Regions from separate parts of the Homo sapiens genome. Here regions 1, 2, 3, 4, 6 and 7 are each linked to region 5. The links are contacts of gene promoters, found by promoter capture Hi-C in blood cells and fetal thymus (Javierre and others, 2016). All regions are on one chromosome and are shown on one strand. Each heading gives the region's core, a stretch centred on a gene start or on the middle of the fragment in contact. The rest is flanking DNA. Distances are from core to core; before and after follow the strand shown.

What was found. Contacts are between HindIII fragments. The CHiCAGO score rates a contact against its expected background, and 5 or more counts as called.
Region 1: a contact is called between a fragment that was not itself captured here and the fragment with the promoter of WDR91 in region 5, in 2 of 17 cell types (M1 macrophages and M0 macrophages). The highest score is 5.7, in M1 macrophages.
Region 2: a contact is called between a fragment that was not itself captured here and the fragment with the promoter of WDR91 in region 5, in 1 of 17 cell types (naive CD4 T cells). The highest score is 7.7, in naive CD4 T cells.
Region 3: a contact is called between a fragment that was not itself captured here and the fragment with the promoter of WDR91 in region 5, in 1 of 17 cell types (naive CD4 T cells). The highest score is 5.5, in naive CD4 T cells.
Region 4: a contact is called between a fragment that was not itself captured here and the fragment with the promoter of WDR91 in region 5, in 1 of 17 cell types (neutrophils). The highest score is 5.2, in neutrophils.
Region 6: a fragment that was not itself captured here is called in contact with the fragment with the promoter of WDR91 in region 5 in 3 of 17 cell types (naive CD4 T cells, megakaryocytes and naive B cells); the score reaches 6.2 in naive CD4 T cells.
Region 7: a contact is called between a fragment that was not itself captured here and the fragment with the promoter of WDR91 in region 5, in 4 of 17 cell types (naive CD8 T cells, total CD8 T cells, activated CD4 T cells and 1 more). The highest score is 5.7, in naive CD8 T cells.

What each region holds. Positions count from the first base shown.
Region 1 is chr7:135,646,797-135,650,695 of GRCh38, reverse strand. It overlaps NUP205 (nucleoporin 205), which reads right to left. Exons shown (of 43, transcript NM_015135.3): 43 at 1,943-2,292. The coding sequence ends at 2,140. It also overlaps the pseudogene LOC124901801. Among named protein-coding and RNA genes, the nearest start is that of STMP1, 14 kb to the left of the region's middle. The HindIII fragment of the contact is 1,019 bases long and covers 1,686-2,704 here.
Region 2 is chr7:134,716,176-134,719,992 of GRCh38, reverse strand. The region is part of intron 1 of LOC124901750 (a long non-coding RNA gene); the gene reads left to right. It also overlaps a transcript of CALD1 not described here. Among named protein-coding and RNA genes, the nearest start is that of CALD1, 62 kb to the left of the region's middle. The HindIII fragment of the contact is 1,292 bases long and covers 1,726-3,017 here.
Region 3 is chr7:135,571,700-135,575,818 of GRCh38, reverse strand. It overlaps NUP205 (nucleoporin 205), which reads right to left. Exons shown (of 43, transcript NM_015135.3): 3 at 1,994-2,165. Among named protein-coding and RNA genes, the nearest start is that of NUP205, 16 kb to the right of the region's middle. The HindIII fragment of the contact is 1,877 bases long and covers 365-2,241 here.
Region 4 is chr7:134,907,982-134,912,263 of GRCh38, reverse strand. All of the region lies in intron 3 of CALD1 (caldesmon 1), which reads right to left. Among named protein-coding and RNA genes, the nearest start is that of AGBL3, 76 kb to the left of the region's middle. RefSeq lists silencers at 3,704-3,753, 3,764-3,813. The HindIII fragment of the contact is 5,578 bases long and covers 152-4,282 here.
Region 5 is chr7:135,210,011-135,213,811 of GRCh38, reverse strand. It overlaps WDR91 (WD repeat domain 91), which reads left to right and starts at 2,286. Exons shown (of 15, transcript NM_014149.4): 1 at 2,286-2,432. The coding sequence starts at 2,310. RefSeq lists a silencer at 2,044-2,583 and an enhancer at 3,754-3,801. The HindIII fragment of the contact is 4,223 bases long and covers 1-3,801 here.
Region 6 is chr7:134,946,994-134,950,950 of GRCh38, reverse strand. It overlaps CALD1 (caldesmon 1), which reads right to left. Exons shown (of 15, transcript NM_033138.4): 8 at 3,182-3,443; 9 at 437-577. Among named protein-coding and RNA genes, the nearest start is that of AGBL3, 38 kb to the left of the region's middle. The HindIII fragment of the contact is 7,816 bases long and covers 1-3,957 here.
Region 7 is chr7:134,698,892-134,702,952 of GRCh38, reverse strand. The region is part of intron 1 of LOC124901750 (a long non-coding RNA gene); the gene reads left to right. Among named protein-coding and RNA genes, the nearest start is that of BPGM, 54 kb to the right of the region's middle. RefSeq lists a silencer at 1-56. The HindIII fragment of the contact is 2,272 bases long and covers 822-3,093 here.

The DNA of each region.
Region 1 (3,899 bases), core at 946-3,445, 440 kb before region 5:
TTCTAGGTTCATACCTGTGCTCCAGATGACAGAGATAACCATATGCCTGACCAGTGGAGCACTATGCACTGTAACTACATTTTGGATCCATTTATTTATTCTTTCACATCCAGGACTTTTATTTATTAACAGAATGTTTTCCAGCTAATGTTTATATCTGGTGGGCGGTAAATTAATTACAAAATATAACACTGACAAAGCCTTTATATTTTTCTTTTTTTAAACCTGACAGCATAACTTCCTCTAAGATAAAGATGTTTTAAAGATGCTTGAAGGCCAGATGCAGTGGCTCATGCCTGTAATCCCAGCACTTTGGGAGGCTGAGGCAGGCAGATCCCTTGAGGCCAGGAGTTTGAGACCAGCCTGGCCAACATGGTGAAACCCCGTCTCTACTAAAAATACATTAGCTGGGCATGGTAGCACACGCCTGTAATCTAGCTACTCGGGAGGCGCAGGCAGGAAAGTCACTTGAGTCCGGGAGGTGGAGGTTGCAGTGAGCCACGATCATGCCACTGCACTCCAGCCTGGGTGACAGAGTAAGACCCTATCACCAAAAAAAAAAAAAAAAAAAAAACCACAAAACCCAAAAACCAACGCTTGGAAGCCATAGAAGTTTTATTGTAAGCATTTAAAAACAACAACAACAACACTAGGCTGGGCGCGGAGACTCACGCCTGTAATCCCAGCACTTTGGGAGGCCAAGGTGAGCGAATCACAAGGTCAGGAGATTGAGACCATCCTGGCCAACATGGTGAAACCCCGTGTCTACTAAAAATACAAAAATTAGCTGGGTGTGGTGGCGCACACCTGGAGTCCCAGCTACTCGGGAGGCTGAGGCAGAAGAATCGCTTGAACCTGGAAGGCAGAGGTTGTGCTGAATCGAGATCATGCCACTGTACTCCAGCCTGGTGACAGAGCAAGACTCTTTCTCAAAAACAAAACAAAAAACAAAACAAAACAAAAAAACACTATGACACTATAGAATAATTATCAATTTTATTCTATAGTGTTATAGCGTTTATTCTGTTACTAAATGAAAGCAAAGACTTCCTCTCAGCAGTCTCTCCTATGTATTAGGCTGAAGTAATTGCTGTCTGGAAAAGGAAATTTGCAGTTTCGGATGATGTAGTTACTTGAACATGAAAACAACTGGGTAAGAAATAGAGTGGTGATCATGTAAATGTTTTGTCCTAGTGATAGCCATCATATTAATTATATGAGAAATATTGGCAGATGATTAATTTGAGAAATTTCACAATCATTTCTAAGGAACAAACACAAATTACTGTAGAGTCAGCTCTCCATATCCCCACGTTCAAAATCTGCAGATTCAACCAACCACAGATCACAAATATTTGGGGGGGAAAAAACCAGTGTAACAGCAAAAAATAATACAAATTTAAAAACGTAGTATTAACCACTATTTATATAGAATTCATATTATATTAGGTATTGTAAGTAATCTAGAAATGATTTAAAGTATACAAGAAGATGTATCTATATTATATGCAAACACAATGCCATTTTATATAAGGAACATGCATGCCAAAACATAGGTTTTGGTATCCGTGGGAGCCCTAGAACCAGTAATCACCAGATACCAAGGGACAATTGTATTGTCAACTTACGTGCAGAAAAGAAAAAAACAAAAAAAAGGAAAACCTAAATAATTTTAGGAAAAAGCTTGACTTTTTCAGACATTTTCACAGTATTGAGTACACTATTCTATAAGAGCATGGCTATATTTTAGTAACCCTGAATATTGTTAATAGTGTAATGTAGCTACAAAGGGTGAAAAAATTAGAATTTTCAGACTATGCCTTTAATCTGGCATTCAGAATAATATCTCTATGGGAAAATCACCACTGTTGAAGGTTTATTTGTTAGATTCCTGATAATGCTGATCAAAAGATAAAAGATCAAAAGATTAACCATACATTTGTTTTGTTTTTTTAAAAAGTATTTATTTTTTACTAGTGAGGATGGAACTAGGGGAAGAAGTTTACAGAAAAGATGTCCATATACAAAGAAAGAAATAGCAAAATATTTTTGGTCATAATTTAGAAAGAAACTAATCTATAAAATGGAGACAATTCTCCCCAATTCATCTCTCTCATAGAAGAGCATAAGCACGGGCTCTCAGTTCCTTGATATCCTCAAGAGGCCACGGATACGTCTGACAAGAGCCTGTATGAAACTATATCGAGATCGAACTTTTGAATATAATCCTTCAATGTCCAGAAGTTTCTTTTGTAGTGATTCTCCAAAAGCGTTGATTGCATCAGCCTGAAGCTAGCGGTGACACAAAAGACATTTTGTTAAAATTGTTGTCTCAAATATTTCTTTTATTCTAAGTCTTCCAATTTAAAACACTTTAGAATTTTTGTAATGTGGTTCTTTCAATGTAAATACTTTTGAATTTTTGTAATGTGTTACTAAATTAACTAAACATTCACATTTTCTACCTTAGAATTTTTTGGTTTAATTCTCATGTTTTTCCTGCTTTCTTTTCTTGTATAAATTTAAAAACCTGCTTTAAATAGCAATGAATGTTGATGCTGATGCTGATATACTAACATACACACAAAAACATTTCCTGAAGGGCCATACAAGAAGTCAGTAAGACTGGCGGGGGAGGGAGGGAAGGAGAATGCAGGGAAGGAAGGGAGGGAGGGAGGACAGGAGGGTAGGTGGGAAAGAAGCTTTTACTTTTTACTTCATTTTGCAATTTTTAAAAACCCACTTGCATGCTTTTGTTTTCAAAAAATATTAATGTGGGGATACACCTGTTATATGCTTTAGAATTCATATATATTCTAGAATGCATATGTAGTTTCAGATGGATCTTTTTGATGTTATACTAAAAGACTAAAATTAAGTACAATATTAGATCAATCTACCTGTTTTCAGTTTTGCATTAAAATCACAACACAGAGTGTGAGATTATTTATTAATCCTGCATTTTTTTCTAGCTTTTTCACAAAGCAGTCTAAATGAAATAGTAACAGTTATTACTTCAAAATATATTTATTTTTGTTGTCCTAGCTACTCAGGATGCTGAGGCGGGAGAATCACTTGAGCCCAGGGGGTTGAGGCTGCAGTGAACTGTGGTCACACCACTGCATGCCAGCCTGGGTAATGGAGTGAGACCTTGTCTCTCAGACAAAACAAACAAACAAACAAACTTCTGAATAATCTTCTTTGGCTAATTTTGCACATGGCCTCAATTAACACTAGTTCTCCTAAACAAGCCTAGCCACAAAACGAATTCCTTTTATAAAGTCACTAAGGGGCGAATGTAGTCTGGATTGGGATGGGAGCGTGGTATTCATGATATCCAGCAAGCTGTGCTTTGGAGGCTGCTGTAACTGCACCTTTCATTCCCAACCTTGTTTTAAGAAAAATAGCAAAAAGAGGGATTTGGGAGGAGCAGAGGCTTTATCAAATCATGGCTAAGGACATTCAGATGGCTAGCAGAGGATCTAGCTGTAATTCATTTTCCCTAACATCACACACCCTGATACCTGCTTTGTTAGAAACATAACTTTGCTATTAGTTTAATATGAGGTTTTCATTGTAATTGTTTTTGGCATACTCTTCATTCATTCTAACACTACTGATCAACAGGTTAGTAAGAGCACAGTGTTGTGTACTATGGTCTATGACGGCGGGATTTGTATTGGCTGCTCTCAATCTCACCATTAAATTATTTCCTGAAAAATAAGTGCTGAGTGATACTTTGTACCTAAAAAGTTCTACAAAGCTAATCAAAAGACATCAGGAGTTTCCAGATCATAATGCCTACCAATCACGGAATGCTTACCATGTTCTAGGTACAACACTAGCAGCCTCACATACATGAAACCTCACTTAATTCTGACAAAACCCTCTGAGGTTGA
Region 2 (3,817 bases), core at 1,122-3,621, 490 kb after region 5:
TTCTTTTGAAGGATCTGTGTAGCTCAAAGTACAACTGAGTTGAAACAGAGATACAAACAAGAAAACAAACACTCACTGCGGGCATCTTTGGCGATTGATGTGAACATTTCGGGGGCATCTTTGGTGATTGATGTGAACATTTCGGGATTTGAACATTTTGGCTTTTGAACAGGTAACTCTCAAAATTCATTCCCTTAAGACTCAACCAAGGTAACTTTTGGCTTCTGTCACCTTGTCCAAACCAGATTGGGGTCCTTAAAAGCTCTTTTTTGCACACACACAAGGCCGTTGACGTCCAAGCAAAACAAAATGGACAAACACATATCGGACAATGGCCATTGATGGGCCCAGCTACACTCTTCCTGTGCTTGGAGAAATCTCTCCTATCCCCCCTCGCAAACTACCGGTTTCTTTCCCTGGACGCTGTTCTCTGCCTGCTCTTTCTAGGAGACAATGATGACTGCCCCATTTCCCTGGACTCTAGCCCTTTGCCTGATTGGTACTTTATTTAGATTGGCTGTTTGGCTCTTCCTAGGCTTCACCCTGGGTGCTCTGCTACTTTTTACAGGTCTACACCAAGTTCCTCTGGCGAGCCTCATAACCCTGTTCTGCTCCCAACTCTTGTTGTAGGGACCCCAGCCCTCTATTTGCCCTGTAAAGTTATTTGGACATATTTTTTTATCCCTTTTTGTCTCTCCTCTTTCTATTTTTTTCTTCCTTATTTATTCTTCACTTCTCCCTTTCCTTCTTCTCTGAAGCTTAAATTTTCTCTTTAAACAATCATTTTTCCGTTCCCAGTGACCTTCATAATTTGGTCTGAAAGTTAATATTTCTGTAGCTAAAATGTTTTAAGAGGCAATAGTGGCAGAAAGAACATTGGACTAGCTTCAGACCTTAGTTCTAACATTTGTGAGCTGTAGGATATTGGGGAAAATAATGTCCTTATACCTCAGTTTCTTCATTTGCAAAATGGAGATAATACTCTATAGTGTACACAGTAGTCATGAGGCTAGCATGGGTGAGAACCACTGATAGGTTCCCAGTAAAAGGTAATTATTTCATTCAACTTGACTCAAAAATTTATTTGGCAAGTGTTATTCATCTAGGTATGACATCTAAGCAATAGTGACAATATTTTGGGGAAATAAAAACTCCAGAAACAGTTGTCAAGAACTGCTAAGGGTCTTAGATTTTACCCTTCTTGAAAACTAGCAACCAGTATAAGACATGAGACTTCTGGGTCAGAGACAAAGAATTTTATTATTCACAACAACAGCAGTAGCCAACGTCTTCTGATTGCAACAGAAATTTGTACAGTAATTTACTCTAATTTTAAAACAGCTGAGGCCAGGTTTTATGCATTTTTAATGCATAACAAGCCTTTTATAAATCATCTGTATTTTACTACTTGTCTCTGCTCCCATCTCAGATACATCATTATATGAAACATTTTTTTCCCATTAAATAAACACATGTATACAAATAAATATAAGTATGTAATTTATAGCAGTTGAGTTTAGTGATTAAAAACTCAGGTTCAGAAGTCAACCTGCCTCGGCTCAAATCCCAGCTTAACCACCACAGAGTGACCTTGGGCAAGCTATTTAACTTCTCTGTGCCTTTTTGTCATGTCTGTAAAATGGAGATAATAACAGTGTCTACTTCATAAGATTGATGAGTGGATAGAATGTTATAATCCATGTAAAGTGCTTATGACATCAAGCTTACAATAAATGGTAGCTATTATTAATAGTGTAAATTCACACAATCCTTTGGATTTCATCTTCTTTCCCAAGAGGAGGATTTAAAAAAATGTTTTCAATCTAGAACTTAGGGTTTCAGAATAAATCCACAGGCACTTATAAAAAAACTGCTCTCCCATTTTTCTTCTCTTACCATGAACCAACTTTAGATTGATTCTGTGTTTAAAAACAAAAGGGAAAAAGAAAAATAGGTACCAAATGAAAATTCTACCTTCTGGAAGCATTCACATAGTTAGTATTGTTTTTTTTCCATGACAAGAAGAATGTTCTTTTATCTAGAAACCATCTATATTGCTAGCATTTTCTCTTTGTTTTAGCTGTAGTCCAAGCAAGTTATTTACTAAGAAGCTAAAAATCGGAAATATATGTCTCCATATTTATGTTTTCTTAGTCATTTGTTTTTTAATTCTTGAAATCTCCAAAGGCAATTGGCACACACAAAAAAATCCTGGGGCTTAAGGAAAATGTTTACCAATCCATTAAACATATACAAGCCCTGGTTATAATAATTGTGCCTTCTTTCAAGTGGAGCTGGCAGGGCCTTCCCTATCATGGAGTCAAACTCCTCACTTTGACTTTATGGACCCGGAGCCTGAGCACAGGGAGGCGGGCGAATGCTCCAGTCTGAGCAGCCAAGTGCAGCTGGATTCCAGTGCTTTCTCTGCATCACACCATTCCTTCTGCCTGGCCACCTTCTATCCCCTTATTTTCCTTCATTCTCAGGATCAAAGCAGGTACATTTAGTTGGTATTGCATGAAATGCGATGTGTTGAATGAAACTGAAATGTGTTCCGATTTCATTCCTGGTGCTTTCTTGGCCATTGTAAGCAAGGTACCAAGGTCACTCTGCTTTTCCAATTGGGCTTTTTCAGCTTATTAAAACTACAGTGGTCCTTTGGGTGGTGACACCATTATGTATGGCACTGTTATGGCAGATACATGACATTATACATTTGTCAAAACACATAGACCTATGCAACACAGAATGAACCCTACCCTAAACCATGGATTTTAGTTCATAATAGCATTATTGGTTTTGATTAATCAGTTTTAACAAGTGTACCACACTAATGTCAGATGTTAACACTAGGGGAAACTGTGTGTGTTGAGGTGGGGGAAAGAGACGGAACTCACTGTACTTTCTGCTCAATTATTCTGTAAAAATATACCGTCCTAAAAATTAAATATATTATAGACAGATAGATAGATGATAGATAGATAGACAGAGTCTAAGATAAGTATATATATAAAGCTTCAGTGGTCAAACCTTGTTATATTTGAGAGATAGTATGGTAATGGAGCTTGTTTACCAACAACAATAACCACAAAAAATCGAAGACCAGTGATTTCTTATCTCATTTGGCATTGGTCTTTGGTGTGAAAAAGGTAAATTCTAGAACTCACTATTCACATAATCCATATCACACATCAAAGTCTACAGTATAAATACTATTCCTTAATAAAACTGATAATTTGCAAGGCATGGTGCAATGTAGTTTTGAAAGATGCTGTCATCTTTTTAATAACTAGCTCACATCCACTCTACCTGCCATGAATATTTGAACTCACTTTGGTCATGGTGTTGACATGAACCCTTCTGGCTGAGTTTTTTCCCTGACATTGTTTTCACTCTGTCCATTTATATTTTTGCTTATATTTTTGCCAATTTATTTGATGGTGTGTTAAAAACTGATTCAAACATCTAAAAGTTTCTTCTTCTGTCATGTACATTTCAAGAGTTTAGAAAATAATAAATCTTTCTCATATTTGCCTGCATGGACTTACAATACAAAAGCAAGCAACACAGAGTCTTGTCCACTGGAGCTATCAAAATTTCACAAAATTTCAGCCTTTTAATTGATTCATTAAACACACTGGGTGATAATTCTTGCATCTGAGCTAGTATCTTATGAGACAGTGAGAGTGGTTGAATTTTTATAGTAGCCAGTTGCATTGTTTAAACAGATGGTTTAACAAAACTACCCCTGATGGTACATTCCATTTTCCCTCAGAGTACATCTACTTAGAGTCATGCTGAATGTGACTTTTTATTG
Region 3 (4,119 bases), core at 54-2,553, 360 kb before region 5:
TCCTTTGAATGAGTTCTACCTTTTTTTTTGAGATGGAGTCTCACTCTGTCACCTAGGCTGGAGTGCAGTGGCGTGATCTCACTGCAACCTCTGCCGCCTAGGTTCAAGCAATTCTCCTGCCTTAGCCTCCTGAGTAGTTAGGATTACAGGCACTTGCCATAGCACCCAGCTAATTTTTGTATTTTTAGTAGCGATGGCATTTCACCATGTTGACCACGCTGGTCTTGAACTCCTGACCTCGTGATCCACCTGCCTTGGCCTCCCAAAGTGGTGGGATTACAGGTGTGAGCCACCACGCCTGGCTAAGTTTCACTTTTTTTTTAAGAGTACTTTGCCTATAGTTTCAGTTTCATTTCCTAAAGCTTTCTTTTCCCCTTACTGCAACTACTCCTCCACTCTACTCCTTTCTGTTCCCCAAATTCATCACCTTGCTTCACCCTCTTGCACAGGCAATTTCTTCTGCCTGGATGCCCTTCATCCTCCCAAATAACCACCTATTCCACCTGATGTATGCTTACTCATTTTGCAACATCTACCTTAAACTTCATGATGTTGTTAAGAGTTCTCTGTACAATCAAGGTCCATCTAATACCATCTCTAAATCTCTGGACCATCTCTAAATCTTGCACAAAACTGCATTAATTGTACTTAATTGTGTCAAAATATTTGTTTCCACATCATTCTCAATTATTAGAATATGAGCGTATTTACACTAGTTGAGATTTTATTCATCTTTATATCACTGGAGTGATATAATTAACACCATGCCTGGCACATGGTAGGTATAGAAGAAATGTTTGTTAAATGAAAGTTCCGAGTTAAACTCAAAACTCAAGCATGTCTAGTGAACATCCCCCTCATTCTCAATATCATACTTCTTTTAGTGCAGGCTTAGGTCAAAAAGGATTTTGGTAGCCATATATTATCTTTAGACATATTAAACTTTTGTTCAACTAACATGCCCATATTTTCTTCAAATGGCTCCTCCATTATAATTAAAACAAACTGCTTATAGTATAGAAATTTTTCTCTCTTTTCTCTACACAGCAGCCAGAGAAATAATTTCAGAGTTAGAATGAATTATGTAATGTCTCTGCTTAAAGCCCTCATCAACAACTTTCTATTGCAATTAGAATAAAATCCAAATACCTTTCATTATCATGCAAAATCAAACATGCTCTGATTCCTGCTGTATCTGCATCTTCCTTTGCTCTCCCTCTCATTTATGATGCTCTAGCCACAATGATCTTTTTATCCTTAAACACGCCTTTATTCCCACCTCAAGCACTGGCTGCTTGCTCTCCCCGGAAAAGCCTTACCCAATAGGTCTGGGTGGCTGGCACCTTCTCATCATTTGGGTCTCAAGGCAAATGACACCATCTTAGAGAGGCCTTCTCTACGGATCCTACTTAGAGTTGCACTAGCCAGCCTCCACCTCTCTATATCTCACTGCTTTATTTTATTTTCTTCCTAGTACTCTGTATTATTGAAATCATCTTATTTTTTACCTACTCATGCATTATCTGAATTACTCTCTCAAAAAGAAATTCCAAAAAAGTGGTGACCTTACCTGCCTACTCACTGACAGTAAGTGCTTTGTGCTATAAAATTTCTGAGATGTCTTTAACAATTCTGATCACTAAACTGAAGCCTTCCTTCCAATCAAAGGTTAAGAAAGGATAGCCGGGCATGGTGGCACATGCCTGTAATCTCAACTACTCGGGAGGCTGAGACATGAGAATCACTTGAACCCGGTAAGTGGAGGTTGCAGTGAGCCGATATCATGCCACTGCACTCCAGCCTGGGCAACAGAGCGAGACTCTGTCTCAAAAAAAAACAACAAAGATTAAAAAAGGAAATATTTTGAATATGGTTTTACCAAACTGCAGCCTTAGAAACTATGATAGAATCTAAACAATAAACTATTTTAAACTATGAGTGATTTTATAATTTTGCATTATTTTACCACTGTTTCAGTTAAATGTCAACCTACCAGCAAGAAGAAGCTCAACAGCTGCCAATTCTCCAATATCAAAAAGGTCACTGAGAATAAAGGCTTCTTTAATGAGCTGTTCAGGAAGAAGTCGAGTTCCCTGTTGACCCTGAATGGCGACTCCCTCTGTACTGGCTTTCTGAACCTTCTCATGCTGTTGAACATTTTTTGGCTACAATGATAAAATTGTAATTGTTATGAAAATAGCACACTGGAGACAAGGTCCCAAAGTGTTACCTACAGAAGCTTATTCATGATAATTCAGCCTGGTAACATGACAAACAGAAGTATTTCTTATCAGCTAATTTAGAACAGACTTTTATGAAGTAATATTTTGCATAACCTTAAACTTTTTATTCCAATACTACCTTCTCAATAACTGTGACTGCTAAACTCTGATCTGAAAAATTTGGAGAAAATATACAAAATAGCATACTATTTTTCAAGTTTCTACAGAACTTTTCAATTACATAATAAATAAAAATAATAAGGTCTTCAAATGGTACATAACAAATGGATATATGAACTGTTTAATTACTTAGCAGAGCAAGTAACAGTTTATTAATGTTATATAAAATGTAGTCTTATTTCCTAAAAGATAATTTGGTGCAAATATTTAACATATGACGTACAGTACAGAATTAGCTGATAGATCATACATCTAAAGTTTCGGAACTTAAAGGTTACACATTGGTCATTGAATCTAGCTCCTCTATTGCAGACAGAAAAACCGACATCCAGCTAAGTCAGGTAACTTGTCTGTGGTCATAAAACTCTCTAGTGGTACAGCCAAGACTGGAAATCAGCTCAACTGGTTCCCAGGCTGGGGTTCTTTCTACTAAAGAAAGCAAAAAAAAAGAAAAAAAAAGAAAAAAAAAAAAAAGCTAAAAAGCAAAAAGCCATTTCTGGTAACACAATCCTATAAATAGTTCTTGGATGGCTTCCTTGCTGTATATAAAAGAAAAGTGCCAGACTGGGCGTGGTGGGTCATGCCTATAATCCTAGCACTTTGAGAGGCTGAAACAGGCAGATCACTTGAGGCCAGGAGTTCAAGACCAGCCTGGCGAACGTGGTGAAACCACGTCTCTAATACAAAAAAATTAGCTGGACATGGTGGCAGGCGCCTGTAATCCAGCTACTCTGGAGGCTGAGGAAGGAGGATTGCTTGAACACGGGAGGGAGGTTGCAGTGAGCCAAGATCGCACCGCTGCACTCCAGACTGGACGACAGAGTGAGACTCTGACACACAAACACATACACGCAAAGGAAAAGTGCCAAACAACAAGAAAAGCATTTTCCAAGTTTGAATCCCCTCCACTAAAGTACCCTATTGCTATTGCAAAGAATTTCAAGATGCAGAAATTAAAAATACTCAAGAATTAATTCATTCCATTAACACAACTTACATAATACTATAAACTACTATAAAATAATACTTAAAATTTTAACGTACATCTGGAAATAAACAAAATAATCAATCTTACCAAGCATAGATGTATTACTAACTAGAGGTCAGAAATTCTAAGGCAGTTAATATTTCTGGAATATACTAAATTTCTTAAATAGTCTTCAAATATTATTAAGTTTATCTCCTAGCTAGAAATAAACATAATATTAACTTCTATAGAGAATAACATTGCTCCTAAGAAAAATTCCATTAAAATCACAGCAGGGCACAGTGGCTCACGTCTATAATCCCAACACTTTTTGAGACCAAGGCAGGAAGATCACCTGAGGCCAGGAGTTCAAGACCAGCCTGGGCAACATAGCAAGACCCTATCTCTAAAAAAAATTAGCTGGGCACGGTGGCACACACCTGTAGTCCCAGCTACTTAGGAGTGAAGAGCCAGGAAGAACGCTTGAACCAGGAGTTTGAGGCTATAGTGAGCTATAATCAGGCCACTTCACTCCAGTCTGGAGGACAGAGCAACACCCTGTCTTTAAAAAATATCTAGAAAAGAAAATCATTGAATCACTGGAGTGAGACAGGTGACATGTTTTTGTTACGTACATTAAGAGTTTACTTGCAAGGACCTACTATTTGATAGCACGACAGGGTGATAGCCAATAATAATTATACATTTTAAAATAACTAAGAGTGTAAATGGATTGTTTGGAAAACAATG
Region 4 (4,282 bases), core at 1,691-4,190, 300 kb after region 5:
CCCACTGTTCTCCCCTCTGGGGGTGCAGGGGACTCATGTTCCATTTTTCCAGGGCACTATTTTTGTGTGATGCTCTCAGGACCAGTCACATGGGGTCGGAAATTGAGGGGAGGTGCTCGTGCCAGAAAGCATAACGAACATCAGTAAAGCTTTCTTTCTTTTTCTTTCAACTTCATTTTATACTCTCTTGCTCTCTTTGATTACACTTAAGTGGTTCTTTCCTTCTCTCCATTTTTACCGAGACCCCGCTTATCTGTCCATCAATGTCAGCTCAAATGCTACATTCTTCCATCATGGAAGTCAACTAGAAGGAGCTCTTTAATGCCTCTGAAATCTCTGTGGTTGTTCCAGTTATTTATCACATATTGCTCTATTGCTGTTATTTGTGTATTATCTCCCATATTATGGCATGTGTTTCTTGAAAGCAAGTCAAGTTTTATACATTTTTAGCACCCTTCTCAAAGTGCCTTGCATAAAGCAGGGATTTAATAAGTATTTTTAGTTAACTGCAGTCAAGAAAGGCATATGGCATTAAAACACAAAGCAATAGCCATCATGAGGCTAACCTATACCTGAATAAGAGGTGAACTGCCTAAGCTCATGTGGATTCATCTAAATCAGAACATGGAAAGGCCAAATACTCCAAGACTTAAAAGTTTTAGTGTCATATACAGAACAACAGTGCTTCCTTAAAAGGCAGATCAATGAAATATGACTCCAGTCCATGTGTAGGGAAAGGCTGACAATTCTATGCTAGGCTTATGAGTATTTACTGCAAAAATGGTGTTTAAAGTTATTACAGCTTTATCTTCTCTCAGTAACAGAGGCGGGAGAAGGTCATCCCCAAAACCAAAGCATGTGCACACACACAGAGCACACATACACTCTGTTGGAAGTTTTGTGAGTGGCTTTAAAAGCAGACACTTCATACTGGCTCATGGATATGAACCAGGAATACCTGGCTACACCTGCTGCCATGTTGCTATGGGCTGCAGGGCTCGCTTTCTGACCATCAGTTCCAGAAGGTGAAGCCTGATCATTCACCAAAAAAAAAAAAAAAAAAAAGAAAAAGGAAATGACCTCTCAGGTTTCAGTTTCATCATCATGACAAAACCATATTAAACCAACCGAGGAGTGGCGGCGGCAGCCTACTAAAAGCTAGGCTTGGAGACAGAAGAATTTTTAGAAAAAAATACAGGAGATGGAACCCCCAACACTTTGCACTTCTTTCAATTCCTTCCTGCCAATAGTCAGAAGCAATTACTAGCCACAAACTTTCTTGCCAGTGTTTGCTTAGGTAGGTTCTTGGTGCATTTTGCTCATTGGTCCAGAATGCAAATGTTTTAATGCATTTCTTTGCTTCTCATTCCCATGTTACTTTCTCTGGAGATGGCATTATGTTGCAACTATATGCAGAAAATCCCCTTGAGTTCAGAGCTGGAAAATGGATATTTTACTTACTAAGAAGACCAAGTGATTATGGACAGGAAAAGTATTTGACTTTTGAACCTAGTCAATGATCAGGTGCTAAAGTCAAACGGAGTCAACTGGTGTTTTCCAGTGAGACTGTGGACTTTGGCCTGCTTCAAGAGCGTGTGTGTGTGTGTGTGTACGTGTGTGCATGTGCCATCAGTCTTTTTTATTGTCATGTGATTGGCCTTGGCTTGGCTCATGAATAGAGCAGTTCTATATTTTCCTGCAACTCCAGCACATGCCTTTTTACCTCCATAACTCCTCCTGCACCATCTTCCCTTGCAAATTTCTTATATTCTTTCTCTTTTCACTATCAAGCCTAGTGTTAGTTTTGGCCTTTTGCAATGTCTGTGGGAAGCAAAAAGAACTCAGTACAACTAGGTAAACTGAGCATGTTTGATTTAGCAGTCCTTTGGAAATATTTTCATGTGCTGTAGCCAAAACTGGTTCTGAAATTCAATGGATAAGTCATTAATAGCCCAAAATAGTTAAATCCACCCTATCACGGGCTGTCTTGTCAGTTTACATTCAATTTTGGAGTTAGGTTTATCAGTTAGTTTAACCTACTTGGTAGTTGACCTAAAATCATCTTGAGATGGATCTCTACGGGGCTAGTGATTTTTAGTTCCAGACATCTTAATCACTTGACCAGTTGATCAAAATATCAAAAGAACAGTTCAGTTTCATTATTAAATATATCGGAACACTATATTGACTATATTCAATATTTTTGATCCAGGTATTAGTAGCCCTAACTCCAAAATGACATTGTGTTATGGGCTTGTGCTTTCTAAGCTGTCCTTTGAGACAAATTGTCCAATGTCCCTTTGTGCTCTCAATCTTACTTGATCCCACAGAGAGCTCTGACACTGTTGACCACATCTCCCTTTTTGAGATTCTCTGTTTTTAAATTTATTTTGTAGTTTCTTTTGTACCTTTTATTGGGTTTCTTCCTCAACTCCTTTCTTCTCCTATCCAACATATGCTCCTTGGATAATATCATCTATGTTTATAACTTGTCTGTCAGTTTTAAGGTGAGGATTCTCTAATTTATATTCCCAGCTCAGTCTGCACTTCCAAACGAAGTTCCTTTTTTTTTGAGACTGCGTTTTGCTCTTGTCACCCAGGCTCCCAGGCTGGAGTGCAATGGCGTGATCTTGGCTCACTGCAATTTCCACCTCACCGGTTCAGGCAATTCTCCTGCCTCAGCCTCCCAAGTAGGTGGGATTACAGGTGCCTGCCACCATGCCCAGCTAATTTTTGTATTTTTAGTAGAGACAGGGTTTCACTGTGTTGGCCAGGCTGGTCTCGAACTCCTGACCTCAGGTGATCCATCCACCTTGGCCTCCCAAAATGCTAGGATTACAGGCGTGAGCCACCACGCCCAGCCTTTGCACTCCTGAATTTCTAAATGGCCTTCTTCCTTGGTAATGAAATATCCAGTAAGGAAGCTGAGAGTAATGAGTAATTCTAGACACCTGATTAATCCAAAATTCTTTCAAAATTCAAAACTTCTCTCCATGCAGGCACTGCACTTCCATATCCTCTTACTTTTAAAAATTGATAATCTGAAAATTTTTTTTAAACTTCTCGATCATATCATCCTATCCTTGCTACAGCAATTTCACAATTCCAGGATGTGAAGTTGGCTTAATATTATAAGAAAAAGTAAAATAAGAGGCATGTATTAACTAAATTAAATATCAAGGGATGAATAACTTGCAGGGACACAGAGAAAATATAAAAAATCTCATCTCATTACTTATGACTTTGAAATGGATACTGTTTTCAACTACCTGGCAGAGTACTTCACTCCTTATATGCATGGAAAATAAAGTTTAAACAATACCCATGTGTCTAGAAGTTGATTTTGGTTGAAAGCACAATTCTCTACTGTTGAGTTTTAAACAACCGAACTGAATCTACCAACTTGGGAGGAAACCTGTCTAACTTGTTTCATATATATATATATATAGTATTTTCTTGAGAGGTTTCAAAATGTCAGGAAGAAAAACTGCCTGGCCCTTTACGGGGCCAGATGATCCAATAGAGGATGCATTTCAGAGTAGCAGTTGCTTCTCGAGGTCCTCAACCTCAGCTGCACATTAGAATTGCCTGGAGAAGTGCCTAAGAATCCTGATGCCCAGGCCATGCCCCAAATCAATTAAACCAGAATCCTGCTCGAGGTCTGATCTAGACATTAGAACTTTTGAAAGCTCCCCAAATGATTCCAGCCTGCAGCTCATGTGAGAAACACTGACGTATAATGAGTGACTTAAGAACACTGTGGACCAGATGCAGTTAAGTTAAAAGGCAGTGTCGAGTCATTCAGAAAATAGAGTGGAGAGAGGAGTCACTGGCAGGTATTTAGTGATCAGACAGGAAATAGATGAGCAACTCATCACTATGATCCTAAGTGCCAGGCTCTTTTTGTTTCTTTTATTATTTTAAAATTGGAGAATATAAATATTTACAAGCAAAAGTAGGTGTTACTTAATATTGTTGCATAGATAAATGTTTAAAACTTTTTAAACATGTGTTAAATATATCCAATGGTATATCCCTTGTTCTCTCCATGACTAAATTTGATCAAGTCCAGTATCACCTTCATCGCCTGGTGACCGAGAAGATTTTAACCTATATCCTCAACCTCTTTTAATGAAAACATCATGTAACCCCAAATTCCTATCTTTTTTCAACATAGATAAACTGTGTCAGCATGATATTCCTAAAGCTCAGTTAGAGATCTGTGAAAAAACAATTCTTAGCAGTCTGTTCTACAGAATTCAAACTGAAAAAAGAGAAAAAA
Region 5 (3,801 bases), core at 1,037-3,536:
AGTGTAGATCAGAGCCCTTTTGGAGCTGAATTTCCATAGAGTAGGAGTGGAGGGTCTGAGCAGAGGGGCAGCAATGATTCTGAGTTGTATTTTGACAAACACGAAAAGTCATACCATTCGAGGGAAGGAGAAGGGAACACTCCATGCATTTTACCAATAGGCCATTCACTGTGCTAAGCGTTTTACATACACTGTCTTATTAAATCTTCATTACTACTGTGCAAGGTGGGTGTTATTGTCACCATTTTTTTTTTTTTGAGACGGAGTCTCGCTCTGTCGACCAGGCTGGAGTGAAGTGGCGCGATCTCGGCTCACTGCAAGCTCCGCCTCCCGGGCTTACGCCATTCTCCTGCCTCAGCCCCCCCGAGTAGCTGGGACTACAGGCGCCCGCCACCACGCCCGGCTAATTTTTTGTATTTTTAGTAGAGACGGGATTTCACCGTGTTAGCCAGGATGGTCTCGATCTCCTGACCTTGTGATCCGCCTGCCTCCGCCTCCCAAAGTGCTGGGATTACAGGCGTGAGCCACCGCGCCCGGCCTATTGTCACCATTCTGCAGAAGCAAGTCTCAAAGATATTGGCTATTTTCCTACTTACAAAAATACGTGCACCTTGTAAAAACTTCAACAATAAAAAGAAAGTAAAAAACAAGAAGTCCTTCATAGTCTCACCTCTCAGATAAAACCACTCCAATTGTCACTTGGTATCTGCAGGGGGTTGGTTTTAGGACCCTCCCTAGAAGACCAAAATCCATGGATGCCCTGATGTAAAAAGGCCTAGTATTTGCATCTAACCTATACACTTCCTCCTGTATACTTTAAATAATCTCTACATTGCTTATAATACTGAATACATTGTACATGTTATGTAAATTGTTGTTATGCTATATTTAATTTGTGTTTTTAAAAATTGTATTCTTTTTTAAACTGAGACGGTGTCCTGCTCTGTCACCCAGGCTGGAGTGCAGTGGTACAATCACAGCTCACTGCAGCCTCGACCTCCTGGGCTCAAGTGATCCTCCTGCCTCAGCCTCCCAAGTAGCTGGGACCACAGGCAGCACCACCACGCCCGGCTAATTTTTTTTTTTTTTTTTTTTTGAGACAGAGTTTCGCTCTTGTTGCCCAGGCTGGTATGCAATGGCGCGATTTCGGCTCACTGCAACCTCCACCTTCTGGGTTCAAGCGATTCTCCTGCTTCAGCCTCCCGAGTAGCTGGGATTACAGGCATGCGCCACAACGCCCGGCTAATCTTGTATTTTTAGTAGAGACGGGGTTTCTCCATGTTGGTCAGGCTGGTCTCAAACTCCCGACCTCAGGTGATCCGCCCACCTCGGCCTCCCAAAGTGCTGGGATTGCAGGCGTGAGCCACTGCGCTCCGCATTTTTTTTTTTTTTTTTTTTTTGTGGAGATGTGGTTTCGTCATGTTGTCCAGGCTGGTCTCCAACTCCTGGGGCCAAGAGATCCGCCTACCCTGGCCTCCCAAAATGTTAGGATTACAAGTGTGAGCCACTGCGCCCGGCTATTTTTTATTTTTAAAACTTTGGAAAAAATATTTTCAATCCTCGTTGGTTGAATCCGTGAATGCGGAACCCGAGGATGCAGAGACCCGACTGCATAGGAACTTGGTGTATAATCTTCCTGAATTTAAAAAATGTACACACATACATACCTAATTTTTTTTTCACAAGAAACCAGGACTATAGCGTACATACACTGCTATGAAATTTGCCTATCCTAGCAGTGCATCTTGGTTATCTTGCTGTGTAGCCAATTCGTCTTACTAATGAAAGCAGAGATTTGGGGGAGTTAGCGCTCTCTGAGGACACGCGTGTTGTGGCTTCACGCAGGTCACTCTGCTCTTAGGGCTCCAGCTTCCTCCGTGTAGGAGGAGGGCAGGGGACCGGGAGCTCTGCGATGTAACGCCAACCAACAGGGCGCCGCACCCCCTGCCCGCCTCGGGACTACCTGGGATGTTCTTAAGATCCAGTCTTGTTTGACGTGGGTGGCAGCCGCCACTTTCAGTAATTCAGACAAAGCCGCCGCCGGCGCCGCCAGGACCTCCCCTCGCCACTCCTCGGGAGGGGTAAGGGTGACTCGAGCGGCCAGGCGGGCTGGGGCTGGCTCAGGGGCGGGGCCTCGGGCGGGGAGCCGGCCGAGGGGCGGGGCCTCAGGCTGGTCGCCCAGTGCGTGCGGGCTGGTAGGCCTGTCGCGGCGTGACGTGCTCGGCGCCCGCGTCCGGCCCCGCCCCATTTCTCCCAGGCCCCGCCCCTCCGTCCCTCACCGCACCACCCCTAAAGACGCTAGCGCTGCGATGGCGGAGGCCGTGGAGCGCACTGACGAGCTGGTCCGGGAGTACCTGCTCTTCCGCGGGTTCACGCACACACTGCGGCAGCTGGACGCCGAGATCAAGGCGGACAAGGAGAAGGGGTTCCGGGTGAGAGGCCGGCGGGAGCGGCGCGGGCAGAGGCGGCCCGAGGGAGCCGGGGAGCGGGCTTCCCCCCAGCACTGCCTCCGGGGCGAGAGCGGCGCTGTCACTCGCGCCGGGGCGCCGGAGACCTCAGCGCGTCCGACCCCAGCTTGACGGATGAGGAACTGAGACCCTCAGACGGACAGGACCTGCCTGAAGCCGCCCCCCGAGTCAGGAGCATCGCCGAGGCTGGAGCCCCGATGCCCCGGCTCCTGGTCTAGGGTTCTGTCTCCACTCCAGCCTCCTTGGCCAGGATGGCGATGAGGTTTTAGGAGCCGAGGTTAGGTAGATGGTTGCGTTTTGGCAACAGATATTCGTGTTGGCTTCCAGTGGCAGTGGAAGCAAAGAAGTCTGCAGTCCAAAACGTTAGCTGCGTTCAAGTATCTGCGGTGTTTGTTTAAAATGGCCTCGTCAGGGACTCATCGGCAATTTTGCTTCTGCAGTTGTGGAAGACCTCATGGCACATTAGAGAAACCCAAACTTCCCCTGCTCTAAAATGATTTTCCATTGCGAGGTTCTTGGAATGTATATGTGTGTGATTTGTATGTTTGTGTGTACTGACTTCAATGAGAGGCAGTGAGCTAACAGCAAGAGCACTGGAGGGGAGTTAGGAGATCTGGTTTCCTGCCTGGCCAAAGTTAGTGGCTACTTAGTGGCAAAAGCAAATCATTTCACCCCTCTGGGCTTCAGTGGCCTGATCTATAAACTAGGGGCATTGGATTGGTATTGATATCCAAACCCTTTTCCAGATTCTGTACTCTGCTGTAATTGCTCCTCACAAGAAGGTGACTTCCTTGGCTGACACTCTGAGCAGCTACCACGGCTTCGTGGAACTTTGATGACTTGAAGGAGTCAGTCCATGCACCTCCTCATGATCCTTGGGATCTGGGAATTGTGGAGATTGTCTCATAGCTCTTCTTCACCCCACCCCCTTTTTTAAAAATGTGAGGTAACTGAAACTACAGTTAAGCAACACTGCCATTTTTTTTTCTTTTTTGACAGAAAGTCTCACTCTGTCGCTTAGGCTGGAGTGCAGTGGCACGATCTCAGCTCACTGCAACCTCTGCCTTCTGGGTTCAAGCGATTCTCCTGCCTCAGCCTCCCGAGTAGCTGGGATTACAGGCGCGTGCCACCACGTCCAGCTAATTTTTGTATTTTTAGTAGAGTCGGGGTTTCACCATGTTGGCAAGGCTGGTCTCGAACTCCTGACCTCAGGTGATCCATCCACCTCAGCCTCCCAAAATGCTGGGATTACAGGCGTGAGCCACGGTGCCTGGCCTGATGACACTGCCAAATTGATCAAGTAAGTCAGAGGCAGATCCAAGATCTGGAGCCA
Region 6 (3,957 bases), core at 538-3,037, 260 kb after region 5:
ATCTTGCTCTGTTGCCCAGGCTAGAGTGCAGTGGCATTATCTTAGCTCACTGCAACCTCTGCCTCCTGGGTTCAAGTGATTCTCCTGCCTAAGCCTCCCAAGTAGCTGAGATTATTACAGGTGTGTGCCACCACGTCCGGCTAGTTTTTGAATTTTTGGTAGAGATGGGGTTTCACCACGGTGGCCAGGCTGGTCTCGAACTCCTGACCTCAGGTGATCTGCCCACATCTGCCTCCCAAAGTGCTGGGATTACAGGCATGAGCCACCGTGCCTGGCCCCAGTCTAAAGTATTTTGTTATAGCAGCCTGAACAGATTAACTTGGAAGGATAGCAAAAAGATAAATGAACAAAGGCCCTGTATAATCAATAACTAAACAAGGGGCTAAAATCCAGTCTCTATCATATTCTAATAGAAGTTTTCTGGGGAAAAAAATACCTTGAGAGATGAACCTTTAGGAGTGAAACACTTGAATGGTTTCTTGTCATCTGACAAGCCATCTTCTGGCATCTTCTGGCGTTTCTCAGCAGCTTCTGCTCTTCGCCTTTCAATCTCTTCCTTTAGCCTCCTCTTCTCTTCCTAAGAGAGAAAGAACAAATAACGAGGCATCAGTACCAGCTTCACAGCCAAAGGGAAGAGTGCTGTAGGAGAGAGAGCACAGTTGGAGAGGCAGCAGACTCAGGCCGCAGGCTGGACACTCCCCTTCTAGGTGGTCACCAGAGGTTTAGCCTGAGAGCTGGAGTCGAGCTGCCTGCATTTGCATTCTGGTGCTGCTACTTTCCAACTGCCTGACCTTGGCCATGTTATTTATCTGCTCTGTGGCTCAGTTTCTTCATCTGTAAAACAGGGATAACAATAGTACTCATTTTTTAGGGCTTTCGTGAGGGCTCAGTGAGATAGCACATGTAAAATGCTTACACCAAACTTGTCCAACCCATGGCCCAGGGGCCACATCATGCCCAGGATGGCTTTGAATGTAGCCTAACACAAATTCGTAAACTTTCTTAAAACATTATGAGACCTTTTTGTGATTTTTTTTTTTTTTGGCTCATCAGCGATCATTAGTGTTAGTGTATTTTATGTGTGGCCCAAGGCAATTCTTCTTCCAATGTGACCCAGGGAAGCCAAAAGATTGGACACCCCTGGCTTAGACTAACACTCATTATGATGATTTCCCATAGGATGATACATAATCACCACCATCCTGTGGGTCATTAACAATGACCTCACACTTCTGTATATGTAAAAGGGATATGAATATTCCTTCTACCTACATCCTAGGAGAGTTGTGAAGACAAATGAATAACTTATGTGAAAAGCTATCTAAATCTGTGGTACTATATTTGCCAGATGGTACAAGAGGTGATTTTATGGTTGCTCCCCGCTTCAAGTGAATATATAATTTTAGATGGTTTGACAAACCTGAAATGCTCTAGACGTTGAACCATGGTAGTGCAATTGCAAATGTTTACAGACTGTCTCATTAACCCCTCTGTGTCTTCATTCCTAGTCTAGAATACTCTGTCTTCTCTATCAGGGCTCTGATCAAGTTGCACAACTTGATTTTCTGAGAGATTTAATGCAGTCTTTGGTAGTTCTTAAGCTGTGAGATCATTATCACTGCATGTTCTCAAGCAGAGACTAGATGTTCATCTGTCAGAGGATGTCACAGAAGGATCCTGTGTTTGGTAGTTTAGCCCAAATAATCTCCTAGGTCCAATCCAGTTCTAAGACTTCGTGATTTCTCTTCAGCCTTTCCTGATACTCTCCTCCTCTGAATAATAATCATAATAACAATGATGGCAATAATGATACCTACTAATTTTTGAGTGCCTAGAATGTGCCAGGCACTGGGAGCACAATGATCTATTAAATTATTGGAAGAATCCTGCAAAGTAGATATTATTTCACAGATAAGGAAAAGAAGACACAGAGTAGTCCAGTTTTCCCAAGGCCCCAGCTTGTTAGTGACAGAGTTAGGATAGAAGACTGGGTGTGTTCCGAGATTGCACCACTGCATTCCTGCACTCCAGCCTGGGTGACAGAGCAAGACTATGTCTAAAAAAACAATAAAAAAAAAAAAGCCTGGGGTGTGTTTAACCCCCAAACTCTATCATCCTGATTACTTCCCATACTTCCCAACCAAAGGTCATTGGCTCATTGAAAGTTGGAGTTAAAAGAGACCTCAAAATAATGTATCCAAATTTTCCATACAGTTCAGGAAAATTTTGCATAGGATCCTTGTCAAAATGCCATTGAAAGTCTTTTTTTTTCTTCATATTTTGAATGATGGGAGATCGCTATCTCAAAAGCTCTGGGCTCTGAGTTGGAAAAGCGGGGTCTCCTTACTGATTCTACCATTTATTAGTCAAGAATCTTCAAATAAGTCACTCAAACTATTTGATTCCTGGTTTCTTTGCCCATAAAATGAGAACGATGTACCTCAGGATGAAATGAAAGAATGCACTTTGTAAACTGTAGTACTGTAAGTTGTAGTTGGTTAAACATTATTTCATATGCTGAGCCAAAATGTTCCTCCTTGTAACTCTATCTGCTGTTTTTAGCTCTGTCTTAAAAGATGAAACAAATCCATCTGTTTATAATGATGGGGCTCTTCCTGCATGTCAGGCACGGTATGGGGTCCTGGGTATACAGTAATGAACAACGCAGATACTGTCCCTGCCTCTTTATATTCTAATGTACTTACTTGCTCATTAAAAAAAAAAAAAGATTTAAAAAAATCTTCTCTATAAAAACTCTCCAACTATTAGAAAACCATAACTTCATTCTGGTAACTAATTTGCAGACCTTTCATCCTTTTCAGCTTTCTAACTTTTCCTTTTTGAGAGGCAGTAAAGGGTTTTAATGATGGGGCTCCTCCTGCATGTCAGGCAGACTCAAGGGAGACCTTGGGAAAGTTACAAACAAAAACAAAAACAAAAACAAAACCTCTCTGTGCCTCAGTTTTCTCATCTGTAAAATGGGGATTAGTACCTAGGTCAGCGAGTTCTTAGAAGCAGTGGACAAATTAATACATCTACAAGTTATAAAACAGTACCTAGCACATGGTAAGTTTATTATTCTTAAAAAAATATTTTTGAGAGCCCATGCTCAAAAGAACAGCCGCACGGCACTAGGGAATTTTCCCGGGCAACGTTCTCAGTGGGCTAGCGCCCGCCTTACCTCCTCTCTGAGTTTTCGATCGGCTTCCTCCTGCTTCCTCCTCTGCTCTTCCTCCTCCAGGACCTTCCTTCTCTCCTCCCTCTTTTTCTTGAGTTCCTCCAGCTCCAAAGCCGCCTCCTGCTGCTTCTGTTTGAGCTTCTCGAACTCTTCGCTCTCGGTCTCCCCGCGACGACGACGAAGCTCCTCCAGCCTTTTGCCGGCTTCCACCTGGGGGGCGCCCTCAGCCTCCTTGGTGTCCACGCTGGCCCTCCCTCCAGGGCGGCTGTGGTTGGGGGGCAATGGAAAGGGGTTTACATGCTTTTGCCTGTAGTCTCCCTGGAGGAAGGGGAGGTCGGTCTGCGGCTTCTGCATCCCCGACTAAATACCCACTGCCTCTCATTAGCCCAGGGGGTAGGCTGGGGAAGGGGTCTGCCCGGAATCACAGAGTCCAGGAGCCTCTGCTCTTCCACTTGTGCTTCGTTTCCTCAGCTGTAAAATGGGACAAATATGCACTGTAAAATGGGATTGTAAAGTTGTGCAGCTGCTATGGAAACAGTATGGAGGTTCCTCAAAAAATCAACAAGAGAACTACCACGTGATCCAGCAATCCCACTTCTGATACACTTCTAAAAGAATGGAAAGCAAGGTCTTGAAGAGACATTTGTATACCCGTGTTCATAGCAGCATTATTTACAAGGACCAAGAGATGGACGCAACCCAAGTGTCCATCATAGCAGGAATGGATAAATAAAAGGTGGTCTAGCCATACCATGGAATATTATTCAGCCTTAAAAAGG
Region 7 (4,061 bases), core at 708-3,207, 510 kb after region 5:
CCAAACGTCACAGCCAGCAGAGGTAGTGGTGGGATTTGAACCCAGGCAGTCTGGCTCCAGCACGCAGGCTTGTAGCCAGAATGTTCCACAATGCATAGATGCAATAAGAAAGCTGATCTAATAGCACAAGACAGGCGAGCATAACAATGTCGGGAAGACCCATGCAGAGGGCAGGGGAAAGGTTATCCTTGTGCTATTCTTGTAATTTTGTTCAACAAAATTGTCAGCATGTGGGCAGAAAAAGAGGCAAAGCCACACACTGTCTTAACCATTTGTAAGCACAGACTATATCACAAAGGGGATTAAAGCTCACATGGTCGGATTCTGGCCTCTCTCACTCCCTTCTCCTAACTCACAAGAAGAGTCAGGCAGCCTGGGCGGGACCGGACCTCTCATGGGCTCCAGCAGCCTGGAGTTCTTCTTCCCATGCTGCCTCTTCCCAACTGCATGGGTATTGTTTCTTCTGTAAATCGGGGAGAGGATTGTTCAACGGGATTACTGTGGGTGCTTTCCAACTCTGAAGTTGCAGGTGTGTCCCACCCTTGAGTGGCAGGGGTAGCTTTAGTGTAGCTTTCTATGCAGCTGAGGGGGACAGTAAATGCATGATCACATGCATTTTTACAGACTGGTTTTGGGTCGATTCATACCTCAAACTCCATGATGGAGAGAACTTTCATAGCCCTTGTAGCTCCTCTCAGCATCTAGAGCAGGATTCTGCTGGTGACAGGTATTTAGCAAATATGGCAGAGTGGCTGTTCCCAGGCCCAGAGCCACTTGCGGGTCCCCCAGAATCTTGATAAGACTCCTCCTTCCATAAAGCTTCTTCCCCACTCCTCCTATCCAAGACTGGATTTAGGGGGCTCAGGATTCTACAAACAAAGCTGAGTGACCCTGTGACCTTGTCATCTCACAGTGACTAGACAAGAAGATAGCCTATCTATCTCCCTGACTCCTGGGAGGCTGCTCCTCCTGGTCTTTATAGAGGCCTGGCTGGAGACAAACTATTGGCCATTTTGCTTCTTGCTTGTTTTGCCTTGGGTTTTTCACAGTTTTCTTGATAAAACAAAAGGTGTTCAGCCTCTTAAAGTTTTTGCCCAGTTCTTACCCTTGACAACAGCACCTCATCACCAATAGTCAGTAAATTTCATTTCTCCCATATCCATATTTCCCTTGCTTCCAGGGTAGGGGAATGGGTTTTGGCCCTGGTTTCATACAGCTGCAGAATGATTTCCAGAATGACGTCCCATGATGGCCATGTGAGAGGAAACAGGCACGAACTGCCACCTGGGAGTGATTTCTGGTGAGACATTTCATCTTCCATGGTGGCTGGCTTAACAGTCAGGCTGGTGAAAGCCAAAAGTTCATCCTCCAGGAATGTTCTGGAGGTTATGCCGCCTGGAGGTAAAGGGTTATTCTAAGCCAGTCTCAGAACTTTGGACCTTTGATGTCTAATTCAATGGTTAGAACATGGGCTAAATGCTTTTGATCCCTAGATGGGGCCAGTGAGCTTGGTTTAATTCAGTGGCCTAAAGCCCACCACTGACTATGTTGGTGAATTTCAGTGTAGTTATTCAACAGGAAGACCAAAAGGAGAGGCTTCACCTCAACTCCTCTCAAGCTGGTGTGCTATCCCAAAGCAATTTGAAATGCCGACATTGATTTGGCAATGATGTATATGAAGGAAGAGTTATGAAGCTCAGTATTAAAGACTGACGTTTCTACTTCTTCCATGCTTTCGTTATGTTAATGTCGCCTCCACATTACCTTCAGATGGAAAGAAAGAACATCACATGAATGGTCAACTACAAAAATTAACTATTTTCAGTCCTGGATTAGGTAAAAAATAATGTATATGGCAAATCATGAAGTTAAGTATTTTCCAAAAATATTTTTTACTGCCTTAACATACTGGAAAAGCAAAAGAATAAAGATGTTCTATTCAAGAATGTAAGTTTATAAATAAGTGGGGGAAAGAAAGGAACATGAGGCCGGGTGCAGTGGCTCACGCCTGTAATCCCAGCACTTTGGGAGGCCGAGGCGGGCGGATCACCTGAGGTCGGGAGTTCGAGACCAACCTGACCAACATGGTGAAAACCCGTCTCTACTAAAAATACAAAAATTAGCCGGGCGCAGTGGTGGGCACCTGTAATCCCAGCTACTTGGGAGGCTGAGACATGAGAATAGCTTGAACCCAGGAGGCGGAGGGTGCAGTGAGCCGAGATCATGCCATTGCACTCTAGCCTGGGCAACAGAGCGAGACTCCATTTCAAAACAAAACAAAACAAAACAAAACAAAATGCAAAAAAAGAAAGGAACATGATCAGGGAACTGGGAGGACCTGGGAGAGTGTGAGTCCACATGGATGAGGATCCAAGCTCAGAGAGGCCATGTTCTTTCCTAAGGTCACACAGCTTAGATAAGGGTTAAAATAAGAGAACATTTAACCCATTTATACCCGAGATTGCAATTTTTGAATTTTTGCAATCAGACCTTGGTGATGACCCTAAGCAGTAGGATATAAATAACTCCCACGTGCTCAGCGTTCCAGTAATGGAACACTAGGCATAAATGGGTTTTAAACAAGTAAAAAGAAAAACTCATTTTTCTGATTCCTAGTATAGTGCTTGTTCCTCTACATAATGTTGCTGTCTAGATTTTTTTTTTTAGATTGTTCATCCATTTTGGAAGCCTAATTGGCAACATAATGGAATTTTCTGAAATCCACAGAGAGAAAAAAAGAGCCAACTACATTCAGTTTTTTTTTGTTGGCTTGTTTTGTTGGAATGTATAAACAATTCACCAACAGACATCATTTCATAGTCTGAAAGGAGTGGAGAATTAAAGAGATTTTGTGCTCAACCTCTCAGTAGAGGAAAGCCCTGTGACATCAATGCACAAGGCTATGGTTGAATTATTTTGGATTTGAGGTATGTGTGTGGGATTTGAGGCATGAAAAGAGGTAAGAGAGGAATTAAAAGGAATTGTTGCTTTCTGGAGAGCCCCGAGTTCAGATACAATGACAGTGAGCTGATCTACGTCTCTTCTTATAAGGAAAATACCATCACTCAGCTACATTTCTGAGAAAGAGAAGCTTTCTGTCTAAAAGAGGACCACAATGAGTTTGTTGAGCTAAATGACTCTTTTGAAGGAATGTTGTAACAAGGAATGGCTAAACGTGATTTGAAATCAGCTGGGTTATTCAGAAAACTTGCCTATTTACATGAGCGCATCCAGCCATTCACGGTTGCCCACGTAGTGCAAATCCTTTTGCTTCTCCATCACTGGAACGCCTTTCCTTGGGGCGAGCCTCTTCTCAGCCTTCAGGAGCCAGCTCAAATTGCACCTAATAAAGTGTAGCCTTCTCATACTGGCCCAAGGCCAAACTCCTTTGTCAGCTTTGCATCTATACCTCAATATGGAATTTACCAAAATGATTCCTTTCTGCCTTTCCTTCTCCATTTGATCATCAACTCCTCAAGATTAAGGACAGGGTCATATTTATCTTTACACCCTAGTGCTTAATACAGTGCCTGTACATGTGATGGTTGATTTTATGTGTCAGTTTGGGGGCACAACAAACGTCATGCACTGTTGTTTGGTCAAACATCAGCCTAGATGTTGCAGAGAAGGTATTTTAAAAGATATAATTGATATTTAAGTGAGTTGACTTTGAGTAGATTACCATACATCATGTGGGTGACGCTCATCCAATCAGCTGGAGGCCTTAAGAGAAAAGACTGAGGCCCTACAAAGGGGAAGGAATTCTGCCTCCAGACTCAAGTCTGCAATGTCACCTCTTGCCAGAACTTCCAGCCTGCTGGTCTGGGCCTGCAAATTTCAGACTTGCAGTTCCCACACTTTCTTTTAAAATGAATCAATCTCTGTCTCTCTATCTTTCTGTCTCTCTCCATATATATGTATATGTCCAAATATATATGTGTATATATTGAATCAATATCTTGTTGATTCTGTTTCTCTGGAAAACATGGAGTAATACAGCACATGTTTAGTAAGAGTTTAGTGAACCACCAACTTAATAGCAAGGAAAAGGAAGACGGCAA